Regions from separate parts of the Homo sapiens genome. Here regions 1, 2, 3, 4, 5 and 7 are each linked to region 6. The links are contacts of gene promoters, found by promoter capture Hi-C in blood cells and fetal thymus (Javierre and others, 2016). All regions are on one chromosome and are shown on one strand. Each heading gives the region's core, a stretch centred on a gene start or on the middle of the fragment in contact. The rest is flanking DNA. Distances are from core to core; before and after follow the strand shown. Region 1 holds the start of LOC124904192 (a long non-coding RNA gene). Region 2 overlaps FGGY (FGGY carbohydrate kinase domain containing). Region 3 overlaps FGGY (FGGY carbohydrate kinase domain containing). Region 4 overlaps FGGY (FGGY carbohydrate kinase domain containing). Region 5 overlaps FGGY (FGGY carbohydrate kinase domain containing). Region 6 holds the start of JUN (Jun proto-oncogene, AP-1 transcription factor subunit). Region 7 overlaps FGGY (FGGY carbohydrate kinase domain containing).

What was found. The method cuts DNA at HindIII sites, captures the fragments that hold promoters and counts their contacts. A CHiCAGO score of 5 or more calls a contact.
Region 1: a fragment that was not itself captured here is called in contact with the fragment with the promoter of JUN in region 6 in 1 of 17 cell types (neutrophils); the score reaches 5.5 in neutrophils.
Region 2: a fragment that was not itself captured here is called in contact with the fragment with the promoter of JUN in region 6 in 1 of 17 cell types (neutrophils); the score reaches 8.0 in neutrophils.
Region 3: a contact is called between a fragment that was not itself captured here and the fragment with the promoter of JUN in region 6, in 1 of 17 cell types (neutrophils). The highest score is 6.0, in neutrophils.
Region 4: a contact is called between a fragment that was not itself captured here and the fragment with the promoter of JUN in region 6, in 1 of 17 cell types (total B cells). The highest score is 5.4, in total B cells.
Region 5: a contact is called between a fragment that was not itself captured here and the fragment with the promoter of JUN in region 6, in 1 of 17 cell types (neutrophils). The highest score is 5.7, in neutrophils.
Region 7: a contact is called between a fragment that was not itself captured here and the fragment with the promoter of JUN in region 6, in 1 of 17 cell types (total B cells). The highest score is 5.0, in total B cells.

The regions. Positions count from the first base shown.
Region 1 is chr1:59,498,247-59,501,606 of GRCh38, reverse strand. The region is part of intron 6 of FGGY (FGGY carbohydrate kinase domain containing); the gene reads right to left. It overlaps LOC124904192 (a long non-coding RNA gene), which reads left to right and starts at 575. Exons shown (of 3, transcript XR_007066139.1): 1 at 575-654. The HindIII fragment of the contact is 3,856 bases long and covers 1-3,360 here.
Region 2 is chr1:59,448,446-59,451,751 of GRCh38, reverse strand. The region is part of intron 5 of FGGY (FGGY carbohydrate kinase domain containing); the gene reads right to left. Among named protein-coding and RNA genes, the nearest start is that of FGGY, 150 kb to the right of the region's middle. The HindIII fragment of the contact is 3,309 bases long and covers 1-3,150 here.
Region 3 is chr1:59,519,562-59,522,955 of GRCh38, reverse strand. The region is part of intron 7 of FGGY (FGGY carbohydrate kinase domain containing); the gene reads right to left. Among named protein-coding and RNA genes, the nearest start is that of MIR4711, 210 kb to the left of the region's middle. The HindIII fragment of the contact is 6,777 bases long and covers 1-3,394 here.
Region 4 is chr1:59,405,066-59,408,454 of GRCh38, reverse strand. All of the region lies in intron 5 of FGGY (FGGY carbohydrate kinase domain containing), which reads right to left. Among named protein-coding and RNA genes, the nearest start is that of FGGY, 110 kb to the right of the region's middle. The HindIII fragment of the contact is 734 bases long and covers 1,218-1,951 here.
Region 5 is chr1:59,355,868-59,359,277 of GRCh38, reverse strand. All of the region lies in intron 4 of FGGY (FGGY carbohydrate kinase domain containing), which reads right to left. Among named protein-coding and RNA genes, the nearest start is that of FGGY, 60 kb to the right of the region's middle. The HindIII fragment of the contact is 4,250 bases long and covers 1-3,410 here.
Region 6 is chr1:58,782,666-58,786,086 of GRCh38, reverse strand. JUN (Jun proto-oncogene, AP-1 transcription factor subunit) reads left to right here and starts at 2,040. Exons shown (of 1, transcript NM_002228.4): 1 at 2,040-3,421. The coding sequence starts at 3,017. It overlaps JUN-DT (JUN divergent transcript), which reads right to left and starts at 936. Exons shown (of 2, transcript NR_108106.1): 1 at 782-936. RefSeq lists enhancers at 849-1,594, 1,821-2,080, 1,595-2,342. The HindIII fragment of the contact is 7,855 bases long and covers 1-3,421 here.
Region 7 is chr1:59,326,827-59,330,523 of GRCh38, reverse strand. The region is part of intron 2 of FGGY (FGGY carbohydrate kinase domain containing); the gene reads right to left. Among named protein-coding and RNA genes, the nearest start is that of FGGY, 32 kb to the right of the region's middle. The HindIII fragment of the contact is 331 bases long and covers 2,068-2,398 here.

The sequences.
Region 1 (3,360 bases), core at 415-2,914, 720 kb before region 6:
AATACTTGACTGTTAAGATGTCCAATGCTTTCAAGACCCATGCAAACAGTTCTACCATGGAGAGTTACCCCACTTCTAGGAAAAGGAAAACTTGGGAAATACATGAAAATACTTTAGGTGTCATTGTGCTAAAAATATTACAAGGTTTAAAGCAGTGGTTTCTACAATTTTGCTTTTTTTTTTCACAATCAAATACAAAGATCACATAAAGAAAACTAGGGATTTATATAGGTTTCTCAATTTTTTATCCTGTCTCATTTACTAATTAAAACCAAATCTTACAATGAGGATTTATTTGACACAAAATTGTATCACTAAAAACATAGGAAGCAGAGGATCTCAAAATAAAGGATGTTCTTTTTTAAGGTAAATACACTTCCTTTTATGACCTCATGTATTTATTGCATCACACACCAGTGAACACTTTGTCAAGGGCCAGCGTTGGTTTCTCGTCTGGACTACTGTTTGCAAACTGCTGACTTACAAAATGGTAACAGCCTCCTAACAATGGGTGAATCTACAGGATGTCAAGCAGCAACTCTCAGGTGAACCACTCAGTCAGTGGATCTGGTGTTAACTATACAATGCCAAATGTCTTCTGGTGATCTGAAGACATCAGGGGCTTTTCTATCATGTAGACCAAACATGATTCAGGTAACTGACAAAATTTTTCACTTCCCAACCAGATGTCTTACTTGCATAGAAATGAAGCCCAACTTGTACTTTCATGTGCAAATAGGCTAGACATAAATTCACCCCTGGAGGGCAGGATTAATTGCTTATCCTCAACGAACGCTAAATTACATATTATTTCTTCTTCTATTTCCAACTATTTTACCTTTGAAGAAGGTTTTCTGCTATTGTTTTGAAAAGCACACATTTCATCTTAGAAATGGTCTGTCTTTTTACATGTTTCTTCCTTTTTTTTTTTTTTTTTTTTTTTGGCAAGAAGGCAGTGTGCTACAATGAAGAGTGTGATCTTAGAAGTCAGGATAATCTGAGTTCTAATTCCATGCACCTACTTTCCCAAACTTTAAGGGCCTTGCAAAAAAGGCACTTAAAATCCCTGAATTCAGTTTCTCTGCAGATATATATCATAAAAGCCATCTATAAGAGGCACTGTGAAGATTTGAGATCATTTATTCCTATAATATGTATTGGGTGCTTGCTCTGTGCCTGGTACTGAGAGACCATGGAGAACCACAGTGTCTGCCTGTCCTCCAGGGGCTCTGTCAGTAACAACACACTCATGCCTAACAAGCTGGAATGACAAACGTACCATAAAACTAAGGTGATATCTTTATTCAGGATTTTAAATAAAATTATGAGTAACTCCAACTGTTGCTGATCCTTAAAGATGAATATCAAGTTTATAAAAGGAAGGATATGTCTGAAACCTTTGCTCTTCCTTAAATCTACTTTCAAGCATACCCTGGAATTTGCTCTGATCATATTTGTTTAAAGAATTCACGTGGTTATCAATGAGCTTCCACCTTCTATGCCGTTGTCCTGACAACCAAGCATTTACTAGACAGAATATGGAAAACAGGTAACAATGTGTCTCTACAGTCAGGGTTGTAGGCAAAATTCGACAGTACAGAGACAATCAAATGACTAGGGTCTTTGTGTTTGAAATCCTTAAAGGGAAATACAAACATATATATGTATATATTTACACACACACACATACATATATATACATGAATAAAAGAGAGTAAAGATTTTACAGAGAAATTAACTGGGCAAGGAGAAGCTGCTATGCATGACTCACTTGTACTTTAATAGCAGCTATGTTTCAAGAGTCAGGTCACAGGTAATGTTGCACATAAGGAAGAAAGGCTAAGTCTGCTGTTACTGTTGTTCAGTTACACTAATAAGATGTTAGGTTCTTTTCCTAGCCTATGTTTCACCAAAGCCAGAAATATCTCAAACATATGAAGAAATGGAATACGACTATGTTCTTAAACTTTTTTTCCAGGACCAAAACTTTTTTTTTCCAAATGAAATCCTCTATAGCACTCTAGCACAGCAGTCTCCCCTTATCTGCAGTTTCGCTTTCCATGGTTTCAATTTCTCATGGTCAACTCTAGTACAAAAATATTAAATGGAAAATTCCAGAAATAAACAATTCATAAGTTTTAAATTGCACACCATTCTGAATAGTGTGATGAATTCTCACGTTATCTAGCTTGGTCCCACCTGGGATGTGAATCATCCCTTTGTCCAGCAAATCCATGCTGTAGGCACTACCTCCCTGTCGTCCGCTTAGTAATCCTCTCAGTTACCAGATCAAAAAAAAAAAAAAAACAAACATAGTATACATAGGGTTCAGTACTACCCATGTTTTTAGGCATCCACTGGGGGTCTTGGAAGGTATTTTCCATGGACAAGGGGGAACTACTATATATAATTATTCTCTGGTTCAAGCAGAGAAGAAAGTGTCCAGGGGTGATACATGCAACAGCTCTGGCACCAGAGGATCATCCAGATTTGGGGGGCTGAGAAATAGAGATCAAAATCTAAACATTAACCTATGGTGAGAGACTATCCATCTTGGAAGCATTAAAGAGGGGAGGGATGGTAATTTGGAACTGTAAAATAGAGCTCCTTGAAACTTCTACTACAGTGCAAAAGCAGAAGCAGCAGAAAGTGTCCACTTTTAACCACACAGACAATGACCTCACTCCTGAATGAAGGAGGACACTGGCATTTGCAGTCCCTCCGGGGGAGGAGTGGAATTTGCCAAGTTGGCATTTAGCCAAAATGATGGAGTAAAATCCCTGAAGCCCTCACTCATGTTGACGTGGAAATCGAGCAGAGAAAGATTCAAAACATGACATAACTTAATGACACTTAAAGTTCTATCTACGTCACCCAGTTGGTGGGGGAGGGGGATCATACACATATTGGGAAAAATGCTCAAGTGCTAGGATGGCAGCATGAACAGCATTTGGGAACTTGTTAGAAGTGTGCATTCTCAGTCCCCACCCTAGACCTACTGAAGCAGAAACTGTGGTGTGGAGCCCAGCCATCCTCCCTCACCAGGTGATTTTGACGCACACCAAGGTATGAAGAGCCCTGCATTAGAGTCACCTAGGGAGCTTCTGAAAATAGCAATTCCTGGGCCCCATTCTTGACTTCTGGTCAATGTTATAAAGTGGAACCCTAGGATTCTTATTTTTAAAAGCTCCCAGGTAATCCGGAGACATAAGCAGAAATAGGCACAGAATCCAAAGAAAATAAATGTTAACAATGAGAACATTTAAAGGCATTATGTATTGGATGTGTGAATTTTACAAGTACAATCTAAGATTAAACGATGGCCTCTCTTCTGAGTTGAATGACTTTGGGCAAGCTACT
Region 2 (3,306 bases), core at 247-2,746, 670 kb before region 6:
AGAGGCAAAAAAAACATTTTCAACACACAAGGATTCAAAAAGTAAACTCATAAGCACTGTCTGAGGACAATACTTGAGAAAGAGTATAACCAAATAACAATTGATTCAGAGCAGCTTTCTCAATATGGTGGAAATCAAAGACTAGAGGAACCAGTAGACACTGAGACCCTTTCTCACTCTGTGTGTCTCTTTCCTGCATATATGTATATATATGCATGTATGTGCATAATATGCTTAAACATATACATATATGCATAAAAATATATGCATATACGTATTGAAATCTAAGTGGATAATAATAATGTAAGCAGGAATCTGTAATATTGAGTTTTCTTAAAATACAATAGGCTTGCTGTTCTACAAAAAAAAAACAAACAACAACAAAAAAAACTTAGTAACAGTCTGGAACTGAAAATAAACATTAAGTAAGCAAATATTAAGTAAGAGTCTAGAGAAGGGGTACACAGAAAACGTTCCTTGAAATACATATACATGTTTAGGCAGAACATAAGTTTATTGTTGGTTATAAGGAATGAGAATGTAACCACTAGTAGAAACAAAACACTTAGTAGGACTCTCAAAGTAACAAGGAATAAAAGGGAATAAAGAAAAAATTAACAAGCCAGTGAAACCAATAAACCACACAAAACAAAAAGGAAAGGGAATGGGGAGTGATGTAATATAAATAGAAAACAAAATAAGATGGAACAAATAAGGTCAATTATCTCAGTATTTCATCAAATGTGAATGGGCTGAATTCCACAACCAGTTAAAAGATAAGATTAATCATACTGTGGTTAAAATTAAGCTATATACCTTGTTTATAATTCAGATTTTTTAAAATGTGATTCAGTTTTCTTTCAAAAATGTTCTACAACAAATACAAACAAAAAAATTTTTAAATGACAATATAAGTATCAAAGTAGAATCAAGATCAAAAATATTTAACAAGGAAAAGAAGAATATTTCATAATGACAAAATGCTCAATCCAAGAAAACTACCATTCATAATATTTTATGAACCAAACAATGTAGTATGAAATATATGAAACAAGAGCTTCTAAAATTTAAAAAGCATTTGAAAAAAGACAATTCTATTTAAATATGTGATTGTACTTTCAGAATGTGAAGAGACATGTAAACTATAAGAGTAATAATAGCTATTATTATTACTACTGGGGAATTAAAGGGTGTTAATACAATCAACAAACTCAATTCTGTATACTCATATAGGAGGAGGGAGAAGGAGAATACTTTATAATTCATGCAGAAACTACATGGGTTAAAGATACCAAATGGAAATGTGAACACACACAAAGGAATGAAGAGTATCAGAACTGCTAAATATGTGAGTAAATACAACAGACATAAATTTCTTTAAAAAAATTGAATTTAAATCTTTATACAATCCAATGCATGAACAAATCATATGAGAATAATAGCACAAATCACAGGAAGATATGAAAGTGTATTATATATAATGAGGCATCAAAATTATTTTAAGGTCGACTGTGATAAGTGAAAGACGCATATTAGAAACTGGCAAGAGGTAAAACTTTTTAGAGATAAAATGGAATACTAACAAATATTTAAGTAATCTGGAGAATACAGGAAAAGGGAATAATTATATAGAATATATGGAAGACAGAAAAAGAAAATAGATTAAAACCCAACCAATAAATGTAAATGACCTAAAATCTCCAGTGCGAAGGCAGAGATAATAAAGCTGAATAAAAATAAAACCCAACTATATGGAGTTTAAAAGAAACTTATTCTACTTTTTAGAGAAGAGCTCACTCTGTTACACAGGCTGGAGTGCAGTGGCATGATGAGGACTGACTGCAGCCTTTAACTCCTGAGCTTAAGGAATCCTGCCACCTGAGCCTCCTAAGTAGCTGAGACTATAAGCACACACCACCATGCCCAGATTACTTTTTCTTTTTTTTATTTTTTAGAGATGGGGGTCTCACTATGTTGCTGAGGCTGGTCTCCATCTGCTGGCCTCAAGCAATCATCCTGCCTTAGTTTTGTGAGTAGCTGGGATTACAGGTGTGAGGTGAGTCGCAGTGCCTGGATAAAAACAAAACAAAACAAAACAAACAAAAAATACTTATTTTCAATATAAAAATGCAAGATAAAGAGTAAAAAGATGCAAAAATATGGCATGCAGGCTGGGTGTGGTGGCTCACGCCTATAATCCCAGCACCTTGGGAGGCTGAGGCAGGTGGATCACAAGGTCAGGAGTTCGAGACCAGCCTGACCAACATGGTGAAACCCCATCTCTACTAAAAATACAAAAAAAATTAGTTGGGCGTGGTGGTGTGCGCCTGTAATCAGCTACTCAGGAGGCTGAGGCAGGAGAATTGCTTGAACCTGGAAGGTGGAGGTTGCAGTGAGCCGAGATTGTGCCATTGCACTCCAGCCTGGGGGACAGAGCAAGACTCAGTCTCAAAAAATAAATAAATAGATAAGGCATGCAGATACAAATAATAAGCTGAGGTGGCTATATTAATATCAAAGTAGACTTCAGAACAAGAAATGTTACCAGGAATAAACAGGTACATTACATATTGAGAAAAGGGTCAATTCACCAAAAAGACTCATAAAGAAGAAATCATAATTTTTAGAAAGGCAACTCGAACTCAGCTAAAATTAGATCTTTTCTCCTTTTGTTTTGGCCTAGGACTAGCAAACATGTAATGCAAAAACTGTATATGAAATCAAGGATTCATGACAGAATGTGGTCACCTAAAGCTGCCCCTGTTTTATAGGTTTGCCTGAAATTCCAGTGGTCTCAGCAGCCCATGGTGATGAAAGGATCTGGCCCACTAAAGGAGTCCAGAACCGTGGACTATTTTAGGCATGAGTGTGTATGAGTGGGGAAGACCAGGAGGCACTGAAGGATCTATCTCATTATCATAAAAGAATGTTATTATTTTATTTTATTTCTTGATGCTCTATCTGGCCTTCTGGAAATTTCAGTATATAAGGTCAGGCCACAACCTCCCACAGCAGGGTCCATATCTGCCTTTTTCATCCAGTTATATGGATGAATAAGCACAATGCTACTCTGGCAAATTTTGAGAGCACAATGCATGTTAATTAAGTGAATGAATAAAAACCTTCAGATCTCAGTTATAGAAGGAAGCTTTCAGGTTCCTAATCATTTTTTAATGGCTTCTATTATAAAGCCTAGATCTTTAGATACTGCTCTGTATGCAGGCTGGAGAAGAGACAAAAGTTAGACTCCTGGAGTGCATGAAGCAGAACACTGGGTTCCTTGCATAGACCATTAACCTCAATGGA
Region 3 (3,394 bases), core at 313-2,812, 740 kb before region 6:
GTAGTAGATGAGATGATCAGAGCTTGTTTAAAATGAGAGGCTCTGGGCACAGAATAAGACACCTTGCTCCATTTACTAGGTACTACTTTTCCATTGTTTGATGCAAGGGTTGCACTAAAGCTGATGTGAAGACAGAGGCACACAAATAAGGGTTTGAGTCTTGGATCCAGTCTTCCTGGTCCTGTAACCTTAGGCAAATCCCTTCACCTCCTCGAAGGTCAGTTTTCCCAACCATTCGTGGGAGGTAAAAATACCTTCCCTATTCCAAGGGTAGTTTAAAAACAGCAAGTCACTACAAAAAGATTAAGATTAATCTTTGAGATTGAGATTGTAAGCATTAATTAACAAATTTAGTAAACAAAATTAACGTCAACATTAATATTGTTTATCTCTCCACCACACAACCCCAATAGCTACGCATCCCATTCCTACCCTGATCTAATAAGCCTGGCCTTATTCCCCATGATTGATGGAACCCAGACTCCTGTGCTGCTTTAAATACACTTTATTAGAGTCACTTCTCCACCCTGGGCCTCAACTTTCTCATCCATAAAATAGATCTACAAACGTCCAGAAGGATATTAAGCAGAAGCTCTATCTTCCACTATAGATACAAATATGCATTGGTGTAAGTATGGGCTAACGTAAGTAAAGGCACAAACATACCTACACACAAATAGATTCACTAGCCAGGTCAACACGGGAGAGCTCATAGGCTCTGCAATCGGTGGGTCCAGGAACCCAACTTTATAATTTATTAAAATGTAACCTTTGGCAGGTTCTTAAACCTTCATCCTTGTATGTTAAAGTCCAAAAATAATTGTAGCTCACAGTGTGGTTGTGAGCTCACAATAGTGAATAGTCAAGTACCTAGCAAAACACTTGGCACAGCATAGGTATTCAACGATTGGTAGGTGAAATAAAAATAACTGCTTTGAGCTCTTTGGAAGGAACTCGAATAGCAGGTGTTTTTATTATTTCCAGCTCTGGAGGAGATTCTTTGGAGCTTTTTGTAGATTGTGACAACAAAACAAAGAGATTTACTCAAGTGTGGCTCAGGAAAACTAAATTACCTATTTAATAACCACCAGTGAAGCTGCCTGTGGCCATTAAATGGGATATAAGGTATAAAATGGAATAACAAATCAGGAGTCATTCCCTTTTCCTAATCTGGAGACAGTGTAGTACAATGGGGCGGGGACCCTGGCTGATGAACTAGGTCACTCAGATTCTAAATTTGACTCTGAAAGTAATATGCTGGGGTAACTTTGGATGATTCACCATTGTCTGGGCCTCAGTTTTCTCATCTGCAAATTGAAGAATTTGGTATACAGAATCTTTGAGCAGCCTTTTAGTTCTAAAGCCTATGATTACTCATTATCCAAACAGGAGTGTATGTATTAAACTCAAAATATTATGGTTTCATGGCAGGTTCACAGCCATATACACTGACGTGTGGCACAAGATTTAAAAACTGGGGACACATGGGGAGCTGGCAATAGCACCAGGCCCTGGATTCTCTCGGTTTTCTTCCACAGAGTCAAAGTCTGGTCTCTCAGCTAAGGCCAGCCTTCTGCAGTCCAGAGAATCACAGCACTCCAAGAAAGCCTTGGAGCCTGGGAACAGGAAACTCAGTTATCCTTCCCCCCACGTATGCTCTCTGCCCCTCCCTCCATCACATGAGCTGTTGCCACGGCTCATGAACTGCCGAGGTCTCAGGCAGTAGTGGGTCGCATTAAACCGAACCTCAACTTAAAACAATAAACTTGCAATCCCATGAATACGTTCTTCCTCTGCCCTCTGTGATTCACATCCAGGAACTCCCAGAGTTGTCCTTGCTCTATCTGCTCAGGGACTGGCACGGTTTTCTCCTTCCAGATTCCACGGCATGACTTTATCTGCATTTCTAATCCCCCCCCACCCCCAATTTCTTGCAGACCGTCTGCCTCTTTGGATCCATATTCTCTCTCATTTTGGACAAGCTCCCTCCTGCCCCCAGCTTTTGGCCAGCGCCTGGCCTGGCTCCTGCGCAGCACGGTTCTGCTCTGGTCTGATCTGCCTACTTGGCAGAAACACATCAATACTGCTTCTGACCCCAGTGTCCTCAGTGCCAACTCATCCCCCCAGGCTGTCTCCTCTGGGTACCAGGTGACATTTTCCACACTTAGAACAAGATTCCAGGCATCCTCAGCAGGGTAGGGCATGGGAATCTATATTTTCTTAAAGTCTCCCTCACCTATATTTACCAATTCTTATTCTGGATTTTTCAAAACCCTCTTATATTTATTATCTTAATTACTAATAATAGTAATTAAATAATTACATTGATTTAGTGAAGACCAGCTATGTGGATTTCATGCTGGATGATGGGCATACAAACGTGAACATGATTTGGTGAAAAAACTGAAATAGTTGTAAAGTATTTCACAGATACAGCATAGAGAGTGATTGGTGCTTTTCTAAGAATGGATTAAATTTGGAGATGTTTCCACAAAGTAACATTTAGACTGAGTGCTGATGGATGAGTAACAAAGGAAAGGAGGTGGAATGTGCATGATGTGCTGAAAGACGGCCAAGTTGTCCCGTGTGGCTTGACTCTGAAATAGATGAGCTAGAAACCATCCTGTCCTCCCTACTCCTCAGGCTTCACTTCTATTATTTTCTTAATCTCACAACTACTTTTACTGAAGAGTCAATTTCACAAAACACATTTCAACAAAGTACTAATGTATCAGCAAAACCCTTATTGTGGGCTGCTTTTTGGCTTCTATAGAAATAAGCTGAATTGATGAAGAGAAATAATATCACTGGAGGTGTTCCAGGAGAGAATAGGGTTTCTCACCTTCAGTGCTACTGACATTTGACATTTGAAGCTGGATAATTCTTTGTTGCAGGGGGTTGGCCTGGGCATTGTAAGGTGTTTGGCAGCATCCCTGGCCTCTACCCACCACAGGCCAGTGCCATTTCCCTTTCCCCAGAAGCAATAAACAAAACTGTCCCCAGACATTGCCAAATGTCCCCTGAGGGGTCAAATCACCCCTGGTTGAGAACCACTGGCCTAGAGAAAAGATATATGAACCTTGGAGGCAGACTCAATTTCAAATCTTGCTATGAGATTAGTTATGTGATTGTGGAAACATTATTCTTTCTGCCTTCAATTCCCTCATGCAGAATGGGGAAACAACCTCTACCTTGTAGGCTTATCGTGAGGAGCAAGATATAAAGTCTGAGCAGTATCAGGTAGAGTACTTGGCACATAGGACACATGTAAGAAATGGTCATCATAGTAGTACCAGTCAGAGTGGTGGTTGTATTTGTTCTAATTAACAATGTTATTATTTTATTATTAGAAATGAAGCCTAGTTGAAGTTTAAAAGTCGCAAAAAATATATAA
Region 4 (3,389 bases), core at 335-2,834, 620 kb before region 6:
AGCAAGATCAAAAGTGTCTACAAAGGCATTCCAAAAACAGCAAAAGGTGTCTGAGCAACATTTCAGTTTTATTTAATAAGTAAAGATTAAGCTGAGTGCTTTTGGTTATTATTAACAGCATATTAATAGCATATTTTATTCTAGGTTGCTTAGAAATGTATTTGCAAAGTCCCAAATAGAAGACCTAGGAGAAAGAGAGAACTTACTGGGTGCCAGGAATTGTGCTATCTGCTATTTATGCAATGTCCCATTTTTCCAGCACAACAAACATAAATGGTATCAGGTTCTCAAGCCAACACAGCTTGCAGGTGGCAAAGCCCAATGCACTTGCCCCAGAATTCGAGTTTTTCTCCATCATGACACCACATGGCCTCCCAATGAAATGCTGAGAGTCAAGGCAATCTTTTCTAGTATTACTTATGAGAACAAAGAAATATTCCGTATTCCTGGGAAAACAAAATACCACAGCAAAGTAAAGAGTACCTTTCCTGTGATTTCCACTTTAGCAGAAAGCAGATGAGAAACCTTTTGGTCCAAGAGTTAAAACAAGATGATGAACAATTTACATGTAGTAGGCAATAAATATTTAATGCCACTTGGTACAGCGGTTCTTCAAAAATGTCTTCCAGCTCTGAAGGCCTTTCTGTTAATCCACACTTCAGGGGGTGCAGCCATGGCTTGAGGAAAATACATTTTTAATAAGGACTGTGCCAACACAGGGGGCTTAAAATGCTGTATAGCATTCCAGTTTTTAGAGCCCTCAGGGAATCTCACACTCTGGGGGAAAAGGGTCCTAATGTGAAGAAGTGAATGGAAAGAGGCCAGAAAAAATTATATCCTAGGGAAGGAGGCCCTGTTAGAGCCTGGTCAGGATAACTATCAGAATATTTTTTTTTCTCTCTCCCCGTGGATGAGCTAGTCAGGTTCAAGGGAATCATATTCCAGACAAATAAGCTCAGGACAAGAGGCACCGGCTGCTTTCCAAGCATTGATGGCATCTTAGCTGCTTAATCTGTGCCTGCAGAGCTGCAACATCACACACTCAGTGTGCAGGCCCTGGTGTCGAACCACCCCCTCCTCCCTTTTCTCAGGCGGTCTTGTAAAGTGTTGGATCTTTGCTACCATTCTCTCATTTTTTGTCTTGCCTTGGCTTTTAAATCTGATGCTCTACCCAGGGGACAGGGAAGAAACTCAGAGATCAGCATCAGCAGGAAGCTTCTTCCACCCATCAGCTAAAAGGACAAAGGAAGAAGGCAGGGCTAAAGCTCGAGACCCAGGACCAACCAGCCGATGACAGAGCCATGGAGGACCCAACCTGCAGGTGGGATAGCTGTAGAGGGGCCACTGCCAGAGATGCTGCCCAAGGCAGACAGAGGGAGGGACAAATACTCCAGCTTCTCTTTCTCTTGCCTTGCCATCTCCCACTGATGACAAATTGTCAGGGGGCAGGGGTCAACCCCCTGTAACACAGCACCCTTGCAGAGCAGGGCAAGGGTGACAAATGGATCTCAGTGCAAACAGCCCAAAGGCCAACACAATTGATAAGTTAAAAGACAGGTTGCAGAATCGTGTATCATGTGATATCATAATTGCTAAATATATGCATATATAATTTAAGTAAATATATGCATATCATATACACACAGATTGAGGTAACAAGAGATGGAAAGATCAAGCAAGAGCAAGGAGAAAAGGAGAAAGATACATGGCTGACCTTATTATTTTTGGTAGTCTCCAAAAACATTAAATTAGGGAACACTGGACCATTGTTCCTAAGGGAAATACAGGGCTAGGTTCCTCTGAGCCTCCAGTTATATTTTTGCCAACTCATCAATACGCAACCCTGTTTCATGTGTATTCTTGCTTAAAAACAACTCATTTAATATATATTGTTGAGTCAATAACACTGAACTTACAGCCAACAGCACTTAACTCCTGCCTGAATGAAGCTTATCAAACACACGTTATTGTCTCTGTAAGGCACATCGCAGCTTTCTTGCACTGTACTTGAACACTACACAGTACTTTTGCACAATGCTTGGGGTGCATTTTAAATGGTGAAATCGCCAACAAAAAGCACAAAAATGAGAAAAACATGGCACGAGTAGACTTCGAAAAGGACACTTGTTTACACTATGAGAGCTGAAACAAGAAGGCAGGGTGTTGTGTTATTTGCCATCGGCTAGGAACACGCATGACGAGAGACTCAGAAATTATCCTCCTCTCTGAGCATTTCTGCGAATGACTGTGAAAGTGCCACAAGTATTGATTTGAGGGTTACAAATAAGATTTAGTAAGTAGGCAAATTTGCAAACAAAGAATCTGCAAATAATGAAGAATCAACTGTCTATTAACAGGCTTAAAAAAGCTTTTTAAAAAACATTTGTTCCTGGAAAATAGGAGATAGAATGCTTTTTGTTTCACTACATTTTTGTCTTCTTTTCTATCTTATTGTTCTCTAGTTTTTCTTCATTGAGCTTGCAATTAAGTGGGGAAGAGGACTCTAAATATCAGATTTCAAAAAGAAAAAAAAAAAAGCTAGGGGAAAAAGCACTAAGAAGTAGAATAATTTAGCCTAACGGGAGATCATCGTAACATAGCACCAGAGAGCAGAGCAGGTCATCCTCACTGTGTGACATGAGGAGCAGTCTCAAAGTGTTTCCCACACCAAATTTCTACCACTCCTCTAGCCAACCAACCAAGTGGGGCAAATGACTAAGGTCGACTGGGGGGTAGGCTAAAGGTGGGAGGTTCATACAAGTTACCTTCCTGAGTAGGTATCTAACATTCCATGGGACAGGTTAGCCTGGACTTATAGACTCACACCTTCCCCATCCATCTCTAAAAAAAAATCTTATTTTATGCTCATTCGATGTTTACTAGTGAGATGATGTAAGTTTTAGTTCAATTCAGTAAATACCACTAAGCCCCTACAATGCAGAAATTATTGTACAAGGTGCTACTAGCCATAAAACACCTTTTTGTCAGGTTTTACCTGTTTTCTATGTACAAATCTACTCTAGCAACTCAAAAAATTAAAAATCTAATTTGTGAGATTCTTCAACTTCCAACCAGGAATAAGTTGCAGAATTGAAAAACCTGCAACCAGGAATAAGTTACAGAATCGAAAAAGCATCAGGATAGCACAAAAGCATAGTAATTTAGCTCTCTGTTCATTTCTTATGCCATTAACAAGCAACTTTTAATCTTTAATCCTCCCTCACTAAGCTGCTTTTACTATCCCATCTGCTCCTCTTGCTCATGCCTTCAGGATCTTATAATTAAATTCTAATTAAAGTTTAAGGCATGTAATAAAGAAAACACTTGCGGAATGCCTTTGATTCAAGAGGCCAAATAACATTTCAGCAGTTTGAAAAATGAATTATATC
Region 5 (3,410 bases), core at 411-2,910, 570 kb before region 6:
TGTGTTATCTGGGATTTTTAACTTAAACCATCAGAAGTTGCTTTCTCTAATCAAAGTGAAGTAATAATACTAAAAATGATAGAAAAATAAAGTCATTATTAAGAAAATAATGAATAATTAATCAGCAAAATAAGAGAGCTCTCATTTTCTAATTGCTTGCTTTGCTTTACTTAGGTAAGCTCCAATGATGTCTTATCTGTAGACAGGGGTACCTGTGTGATAAAGGCTGGTGTTTGACCAGCTAACCTTTACAATAATTTTTCAAATTCATTTCTTAGAGTCAGAAACCTGGGTTTGCATTCCAACGTTGCCAGAGGTAATAAAGTTGATAAGTGGCAATCTACTTAACTCCCTCCATCCTCAATTTCTTCATCTGCAAAGCAAGTGATAACATCTACCTCACAGGATTTTCATAAGAATAAATGGGATAGAAGATTTGAAAGCACACAGTGGATATTTAATAAAGTCTAGTACAGGTGTTGGCCATGTATGTAGATAGCAATAAAACAAAGTCAATATCTTAACTAAAACTTATTTAATATTTCAGAAATGTAAACAACTTTTAATATTTCAAACTGCCTTCCCAAGTGTAACAATCTCCCAACTTATTCCAAAAATGTAAGCTGAGTAGAGGAACAGACAGATGGAAACAACATAAGTCATAAAGCAAGGACAGTAAATGTCCATGGCAGGCTCTAGGTGATGGCTCTGAGTATTCACTGTAAAAGTTTTTCAACTTTTTTATATGTTTGAAATTTTGATAATAAAACATGGCGGGGGGGTGGCAGGGCGGGTAATGGCTTTCACAGCCTCTCGCTCTTGGTACTAGATATGGGAATTCCTTGAGATAAAGGGTGAGCTTGGCTTCCTCCTTTCCTCCCCATCACCAAGCACAGTACTTTGTACCTAGTAGTTACCAGACAAAAGTTTCTTTCACTGATTAAATGAATATATCCCTACAATAACAGAACAATTATGGTCACTTTGGATAATAGGAAAAAAGAAAGTAAAACAGCCCAGGTGTTCAGAGAAATGAGATTTACTTACTCCTCCAAAAGAATACCATTTTGCACCTTTTTGGACTTCTAGCCTGCCACCTTCCTTGCATCAGTGGACATCCATTGACCCTGAGCCTCTAGATTTCCAAGTTGACAGTTTACACGCTATGAGTTACTGTATCACAACACACATTAAATGCATTGTCCTTTTCAGTGTTGTTTCTATAAAGATCGTATTTTCCTCCAGTAAGTGTGACTTCCATTTTAGCCACTATGAGAAAAGAATTTTGTTCAATTTTTGATCGACACAGAATCATACCATGTGTACATAAAGCAAGCCTAACTTCACAATCCTTCCTCGTACCTCTCTGGTTACACTAATGACTCCTAGAGGTGGCCAACATCCCTGCACAGCCGTCAGGAAGACTGGCAACAGGTAAGCCAGGCATGTGGTCTTCAGCACTACAGTCACATGGCTAGCTCCTGGCTGGCCAGGGGACATGAATTCATTTAGTAAATGTTTATTGAGTATTTTTTCAATGCCAAACACTGTGTTTGGCTCTGGGGATATAAAACAGTAAGGTATGAAAAGATAGATTTGGTCCCTGCTTTTATGGAGCTGAAAATCCACCAACCCAAATGAGGAAGAAACATGGTACAGCAGAATAACACACACACACACATATACCAGAATTTAAAGCCAAAAGGACCTTCATTAAGATCCAAGGGACTTCATTTGGCTCCAGTTTAAGCCCAAAGGACCTTCACCAAGATTTGATACCTGTAGAGAAGTCATTTCATTTCTTTGAGGCTTGTATTCATCTGTAAAATGTGAGAAGTAGTAATATTTATCCCACAAGGTCATGTCATAGATCATATAAAGGAAATATTTATGAAAGTCTGCCATAGCCATAAAGTAAAATTTTTTAAAGTATTATAATAATAGCTGACATTTATTAAATGTTACAAGGTATCTGGCCAACAACTTTTTTTCTTTTGTCTGCCTTTTAAAAATTACTTTGCTGGACTATAAAACTAAAAGAATGCAACACATATTTGGTATAAATCAAATATGCAAATACAGGATAATAAGGAAAGGATTCACTGTCCAGGTAGATGAAGGCAAGCCATCAGCCTCAACATTCTGTGTATTTAGTTACAAGTCCAGTACCCACCCTGGAGAGAAAATCCACAACACATGCCCTAACAGCAGCTGACAATACTGTCTTCATTCCTCAAAGGCTGGGAGGAATCTGGTCCAATATACAGGGCCCTGGTATAAACATTCTAAAGAAAGTCTTTCTGATTGAGAAGATGAGTCTTGGATTCTCCTGGGGGGTGAAGGGAGCAACTTAAAGTGGTATCCATCACAGGAGTCCAAAGACACAGTGGAGAGGCCCAGAGGAGTTACTGTCTCAGTCTAGAGCCTTCACTTTGCATACAAAATAAGCTGTGACTCCGGTAACAGGACTGCAGCCAAGGGGTGGCTCTAGGATGGAAAGGAACAGTAATGCTCAAATCTCATTTTCCACAATGAGGAAGAGAAAATTAACTTATGTTGGGCATACAGTGAACCTTTAGTTTGGAATGAAATGATTGGACAAATGCACCTAGCCATCAAAAATGGCATGAGATGATTTAATAAGTTCATCCGCTCATTCATCCACCCATCAAAATATATAATAAGTTATTAATGTTAGAATTTAAACATTGCTCTGGAGGCTAGGGACACTGAGATAAATACAGCACAATGTAATGCAATAAATTCTAGGGTAGAGATAAGCATAGAATGCCACAGGGGACAGAGTGTAGGACCCTAAGTCAAGGAAGGCTTCCTGGAGGCAGTGAAGGCTGGGTTTTGAACTATTATTATAAGTTTTCCTGGTGAAGGAAGAAATTACTATAAGTTTGCCAGGCAGAAGGAAAAACCTGAGCAAAGACCCAGAGGTGTGAGAGAATACAGGCATGGAATCATGAGAGCCCTGGACCAAGAAATTCGCCATCTGGAATGCCTTTCCATTTCTCTAAGCGCTTGCTAGAGGAAAAGTAATGACAGATTCCTTGAACAAATTCCCACAGCCTAAGTCTCAAATTCAAGTGCTCAGAGGGGTAGGGCTGAAAAAGGAAATGAGTGTAGCAGGCTGGGTGAGGACTGCTGCAAAATGAAGAATGCCGACCCCTTCTAAAGAAGGCAGCCCCTATTCAGCTCCAGCCGTTCCCTTCTGCATGGAAGTGTGGACCCTGTATTGCCAAGTTCTTTCATTATTTATTCAGGAAAATAAATAATCTGAATTTTCAGATAAAATTTCTCAATTTTTAAATATTGGAAACTAATTTAAAATTGTTTATTTTTTTTTTCCAAGCACATGGTAGGTCAAACTAAACCTGATTGGGGACCAGATTCAGCCAGTG
Region 6 (3,421 bases), core at 791-3,290:
GACAGAGGAGAATGTTCTCTCCTTGAGGAAGCAACTGGATCTTGTCATCACTGTATACCTACCTACCCCACCCCCTCCCCAGCTCAGTGCCTGGCTCACAGTAGGCTTTCAGTTACCCTCTGCAGATCAGTGAAAGCTAGGTGAGTGCCCGGAGTGAAGAAAAGTTGGCAGGTTTCCCACTGATACCAGCTGCTGTTGGTTTCTGAACACTCAAAGCCGCAAATACCTTAGGGCTGGGGGCAATGAACCCAAGGCTGAATTCCAAGTTCAGAAGCAGCGAAGTCTGAATTTAGAACCTAGGAACTTAAACTGCTGCAGGTCCAACTTCAAGCCCCAGTTTTAGACAGAGGCTTGGGAAAGATCTGACTTCTAACCCGGTTCCCCCTCCCCTCCTCCCCTCGATGCTTCTCACAGGAAAGTACACCTGGTCCTGCCAAATCGCACTCTTATATCCTGGCATCCTATCCAGGCTCTGCGAGGATGGAAACTGCGAGGCAGGGGAGGGAAGCGGGCTGTTTGGCCACCACCTCCCTAGTGCTGCAGGCGACCCTGTCACACTAACTCCTGGCAGCCCAGTGAGGTGGACGGCACCGGCCCCACCTGCAGATGAGGGAAATGAAGCTCGGAGGAGTTCCGTGATTTGCTTGCTTCACACTGTGGTAGCCTGGCCACGAAAGAACCAGGATTCCCGACTTCGGGATTCTTTCCACCACACACTTTCGTCCCTAAGGGGTGGGGGGCGGGGGGAGAATAAAATAACCGCGGAAAAGGAACCACTTACATGTGTCTAGCGCTTCCTAGAGGCTACCCAGGATATGCGCCCACCACCCGGCCGGGAGTGCAGAGATTTGAAGTCCAGGTTCTACCCCGGGCTCCGAGTACTACTGCGTGACTTTATGCGAGTGTCCGCCGCCTTCTGGGCTTGTTTTCCCGGAAGCAACTCGGCGCGGATGGAGTGTGTGTGTGCGCGCGCGCGCGCGTTATGTTGTGCGTGTTGTGTTAAGCGTGTGCGTGTTGTCCGGGGGCGGGAGGGGGAGTAGACTAACACCGGGGTTCCCCGAGTTTCGGATCGCCTACACGCTTGTTCCCATCTGGACCCTGTTACCCACCAATTGCGCCCACTATAAAAACTGCCCCTCCGAGGCAAAGCTGTGAACCCCCGCGCCCTTTCCCCCACGGTCCCGGAGGATGAAGTGGGGTGCAACGGAGACTCAGCTGAGCGTCCAGTTTCGGGCAATACAAATCTCTCGGCTTCTACGAGCAGCCAGACGACCCCGCGGACCGTCGCTCCTGAACTTGACCGAGATGCAAACTTCGGAGTGTTCTCAACGTGGGGGGCCGACTCTCGGGAGACCGCCCCTAAACTTAAGTCCCCTTAGGCTCGCCCCCACCTGGGACTTCACAGAGCCACCTTAAGGGCGGTATTCCCGCCCCCCCGGAAGTGCGGGGGGGTGGCAGCGTACTTGGATTCTCAGCCTCCAGCCCCGCGCGGTGGCGGCCGCCGGTGGATGACTTCGGGCCCCACAAGTGGGGAAACAACAACCACCCCTCGCCCGCACCCCTGGCCCAAAACAACTGGCCAGGTTCCCTGGCCTCCCGGGTCCCTGCATCCCCCGCATCCCCGTCCGCAGCCGTGAACTTGAGCCCCCCTCCATCAGAGGTTGCGAGCGTCCGCCCGCTCGCGGCAGCCACCGTCACTAGACAGTCAAACCCCAAGACGTCAGCCCACAATGCACCGGGCGGGCCGGGAAAAACGGCCCGGGGAGGGGACCGGGGAAGAGAGGGCCGAGAGGCGTGCGGCAGGGGGGAGGGTAGGAGAAAGAAGGGCCCGACTGTAGGAGGGCAGCGGAGCATTACCTCATCCCGTGAGCCTCCGCGGGCCCAGAGAAGAATCTTCTAGGGTGGAGTCTCCATGGTGACGGGCGGGCCCGCCCCCCTGAGAGCGACGCGAGCCAATGGGAAGGCCTTGGGGTGACATCATGGGCTATTTTTAGGGGTTGACTGGTAGCAGATAAGTGTTGAGCTCGGGCTGGATAAGGGCTCAGAGTTGCACTGAGTGTGGCTGAAGCAGCGAGGCGGGAGTGGAGGTGCGCGGAGTCAGGCAGACAGACAGACACAGCCAGCCAGCCAGGTCGGCAGTATAGTCCGAACTGCAAATCTTATTTTCTTTTCACCTTCTCTCTAACTGCCCAGAGCTAGCGCCTGTGGCTCCCGGGCTGGTGTTTCGGGAGTGTCCAGAGAGCCTGGTCTCCAGCCGCCCCCGGGAGGAGAGCCCTGCTGCCCAGGCGCTGTTGACAGCGGCGGAAAGCAGCGGTACCCACGCGCCCGCCGGGGGAAGTCGGCGAGCGGCTGCAGCAGCAAAGAACTTTCCCGGCTGGGAGGACCGGAGACAAGTGGCAGAGTCCCGGAGCCAACTTTTGCAAGCCTTTCCTGCGTCTTAGGCTTCTCCACGGCGGTAAAGACCAGAAGGCGGCGGAGAGCCACGCAAGAGAAGAAGGACGTGCGCTCAGCTTCGCTCGCACCGGTTGTTGAACTTGGGCGAGCGCGAGCCGCGGCTGCCGGGCGCCCCCTCCCCCTAGCAGCGGAGGAGGGGACAAGTCGTCGGAGTCCGGGCGGCCAAGACCCGCCGCCGGCCGGCCACTGCAGGGTCCGCACTGATCCGCTCCGCGGGGAGAGCCGCTGCTCTGGGAAGTGAGTTCGCCTGCGGACTCCGAGGAACCGCTGCGCACGAAGAGCGCTCAGTGAGTGACCGCGACTTTTCAAAGCCGGGTAGCGCGCGCGAGTCGACAAGTAAGAGTGCGGGAGGCATCTTAATTAACCCTGCGCTCCCTGGAGCGAGCTGGTGAGGAGGGCGCAGCGGGGACGACAGCCAGCGGGTGCGTGCGCTCTTAGAGAAACTTTCCCTGTCAAAGGCTCCGGGGGGCGCGGGTGTCCCCCGCTTGCCACAGCCCTGTTGCGGCCCCGAAACTTGTGCGCGCAGCCCAAACTAACCTCACGTGAAGTGACGGACTGTTCTATGACTGCAAAGATGGAAACGACCTTCTATGACGATGCCCTCAACGCCTCGTTCCTCCCGTCCGAGAGCGGACCTTATGGCTACAGTAACCCCAAGATCCTGAAACAGAGCATGACCCTGAACCTGGCCGACCCAGTGGGGAGCCTGAAGCCGCACCTCCGCGCCAAGAACTCGGACCTCCTCACCTCGCCCGACGTGGGGCTGCTCAAGCTGGCGTCGCCCGAGCTGGAGCGCCTGATAATCCAGTCCAGCAACGGGCACATCACCACCACGCCGACCCCCACCCAGTTCCTGTGCCCCAAGAACGTGACAGATGAGCAGGAGGGCTTCGCCGAGGGCTTCGTGCGCGCCCTGGCCGAACTGCACAGCCAGAACACGCTGCCCAGCGTCACGTCGGCGGCGCAG
Region 7 (3,697 bases), core at 984-3,483, 540 kb before region 6:
GATCTCGGCTTATTGCAACCTCCGCCTCCCGGGTTCAAGTGATTCTCCTGCCTCAGCCTCCTCAGTAGTTGGGATTACAGGCGCACACCACCACGCCCAGCTAATTTTTGTATTTTTAGTAAAAACAAGGTTTTGCCATGTTGACCAGGCGGGTCTCAAACTCCTGACCTCATGATCTGCCCACCTGGGCCTCCCAAAGTGCTCTCAATTTCTTTTGACCCTTCATTTTTTTTACACTTCCTGGGTCTAATATAACCCAGGCTCTGGGTAAGCAAAACATAGCTCCTGCCCTCCTGAAACATAAAATCTAGTAGGGAAGACATACATTAATCCAAAAAGTGAAATATCTTATTATTTTGTTTCATTTTATGGTATTTTATTCTTGATTTATAGAATGATTTTATTATTTGATAACAAAAAATGAATGATTCACGAACCACATGGAGTTCTATGAAAGAGACGTACAAGGCACTGTGAAAACATTTAATAAGTGAAATAAGACTTAGTTGGAGGTGGTATTGGTAGAGAAAATGCTCCTTCCTTGAAGAACTAACTTTTGAATTAAGGTTTGGGGCAGCACTATCCAATGGAACTTTCTACAATAATGAAAATGTGCTATATCTGTGCTGTTCAGTATAATAGCCACCATGTGGCTATTGAGCACTTGAAATTTGGCTGGAGCAAAAGAGGAAGTGAATGTTTAATTATATTTAATTGTAATTACTATAAATTTAAATGGCATTGTGGGTTCAGCAACTATTGGATTGGATAGCTTAGGTCTAAGGATGAACAGGAGTTAGATATGCTGGTGGAAGGTAGGAAGGATATGCAGCCAGAAGAAAGAATCTGGGTAACAATTCTTACGCTAAAGGGAGCATTGCATGTTTGAGGACATGACAGAAGGAAGGTGTGGCTGGAATGCAGAGAGCCAGGAGAAGCATCATGAGATGAGCCAGGAATGCAAGTCGAGACAGGCCATGTAGGGCCCTGAAGGCCATGTTAAGGATTGAGTTCTACCCAAATACAGGCATACCTCATTTTATCGTGCTTCACTTTATTGCACTTTGCAGATATTACATTTTTTACAAATTGAACGTCTGTGGCAACCCTGCAGTAAGCAAGTCCATTGCTGCCATTTTTCCAACAGCATGTGCTCACTTCATTAGCATTTTTAGCAATAAAGTATTTTTTAATTAAGGTACCTTTTTTTTAGATACAGTGCTATTGCACACTTAATAGACTACGGTACAGCACAAACAAAACATTTATGTATGCTGGGGAATCAAAAAATTCATGTGACTTGCTTTATTGAGATATTTGCTTTGTGGCAGTGGTCTGGAACTAAAACCGCAGTTTGAGGTATGCCTCAGGCATATCTGGTATCATTGTGCTTTGCTTTACCGCATCTTGCAGATTGTGTTTTTTACAAATTGAAGGTGTGTAGCAGCTCTGCAAAGAGCAAGTCTATCAGTGTCATTTTTCCAATAGCTCATGTCACCTCATGTCTGTGTCACATTCTGGTAATTCTTAATAATATTTCAAACTTTCATTAATATTATATCTGCTATGATAATATTTGATGTTACTATTGCATTTGTTTTGGGGCACCACAAACTGCACCCATATAAGACGGGCAAACTTAATAGATAAATGTGGTGTGTGTTCTCACTGCTCCACAGACTAGCTATTCCTCATCTCTCTCCCTCTCCTTAGGGATCCCTACCCCCGAGACACAACTTTGAAATTAGGCCAATTAATAACCCTACAATGGTCTCCAAATGTTCAAGTGAAAGAAGGAGTCATAGTCTCTCACTTTAAATGTAAAGCTAGAAATGATTAAGCTTAGTCAAGTAGGCATAGGGAAAGCCAAGACTGGCAAAAAGATAGGCCTCTTGCACCAAATAGTCAAGCTGTGAATGCAAAAGAAAGTTCGTAAGGAAAACTAAAAGCGCTACTCCAGTGAACACCTGAATAAGAAAGTGAAACAGTCTTATTGCTGATATGGAGAAAATTTGAGTGGTCTAGATAGAAGATCAAACCAGCCACAACATTCTTTAAGTCAAAGCTTAATCCAGAGCACAGTCCTAACTCTTCAATTCTGTAAAGGCTGAGACAGGTGAGGAAGCTACAGAATGAAAAGTTTGAAGCTACCAGAAGTTGGTTCAGGAGGTTTAAGTAAACAAGCCATTTCCATAATATAAAAACACAAGGTGAAGCAGCAAGTGCTGATGTAGAAACTCCAGCAAGTTATACAGATGATTTGGGTAAGACAATCAATGAAGGTGTCTACACTAAACAACATATTTTTAAGGTAGGCAAAACAGCCTTATATTGGAAGAAGATACCATCTAGGACTTTCACAGCTAGAGACAAAAAGCCAATGCCTGGCCTCAAAGCTTCAAAGGACAAGCTGGCTCTCTTGTTAGGGGCAAATGCAGCTGGTGACTTAAGTTGAAGCCAATGCTCATTTACTATTCCAAAAATCCTAGGGCCCTTAAGAATTATGCTAAATCTACTCTGCCTGTGCTCTAGAAATGGAACAACAAAGCCTGGATGACAGCACATCTATTTACAGCATGGTTTACTGAATATTTTAACCCTGCTGTTGAGACTTACTGCTCAAAGAAAAGAGATTCCTTTCAAAGTGTTACTCCTCATTGACAATGCACCGAGTCACCAAAGAGTTCTGATGAAGATGTACAAGGAGATGAATGTTGTTCTCATACCTGCTAACACAACATCCATTCTGCAGCCCATGGATCAAAGAGAAATTTCAGCTTTCAAGTATTATTATTTAAGAATTACATTTTGTAAGGATATAGCTGCCATAGATAGTGATTCCTCTAATTGATCTAGATAAAGTAAATTGAAAACATTCTGGAAAGGATTTACCACTCTAGATGCCATTAAGAACATTCATGATTCATGGGAGGTCAAAATATCAACATTAACAGGAATTTGGAAGAGGTTAATTCCAACCCTCATGAATGACTTTGAGTGGCTCAAGACTTAAGTGGAGGAAGTTACTGCAGAGGTAGTGGAAATACCAAACGAACTAGAATTAGAAGTGGACCCTGAAGATGAAATTGAATTGCTGTAATCTCATGATAGAATATGAACCGATGAGGGGCTGCTTCTTATGGATGAACAAAGGAAATGATTTCTTGAGATGGAATCTACTTCTGATAAAGATGATATGAACAATGTTGAAATGACAACAAACAATTTAGAATAGTACATAAACTTAACTGATAAGGCTAAGGTCTGAAAGAACTAACTCCAGTTTTGAAAGAAGTCCTGCCATGGATAAGATGCTATCAAACAACATTGCATGCTACAGAGAAATCTTTTGTGAAAGAAAGAGTCAATCAGTGCAGCAAACCTTACTTAAAAAATTGCCTTACTTAAAAAAATTACCACAGCCACCTAACCTTCAGCAACCACCACCCTAATTAGTAAGCAGCTATCAACATCAAGGTAAAACCCTCCACCAGGAAAAAGACTACAACTCACTGCAGGCTTCGATGATCATTAACACATTTTTTGGCAATTTTTAAAAATTAAGTTATATACTTTTTTTAGACTAATGCTATTACACATTTAATAGACTGCAATATAATGTAAACATAACTTTCATATGCACTGAGAAACTCAAAAATTCATGTGAGCTTTGTTGCAATATTCACCTCATTATGGT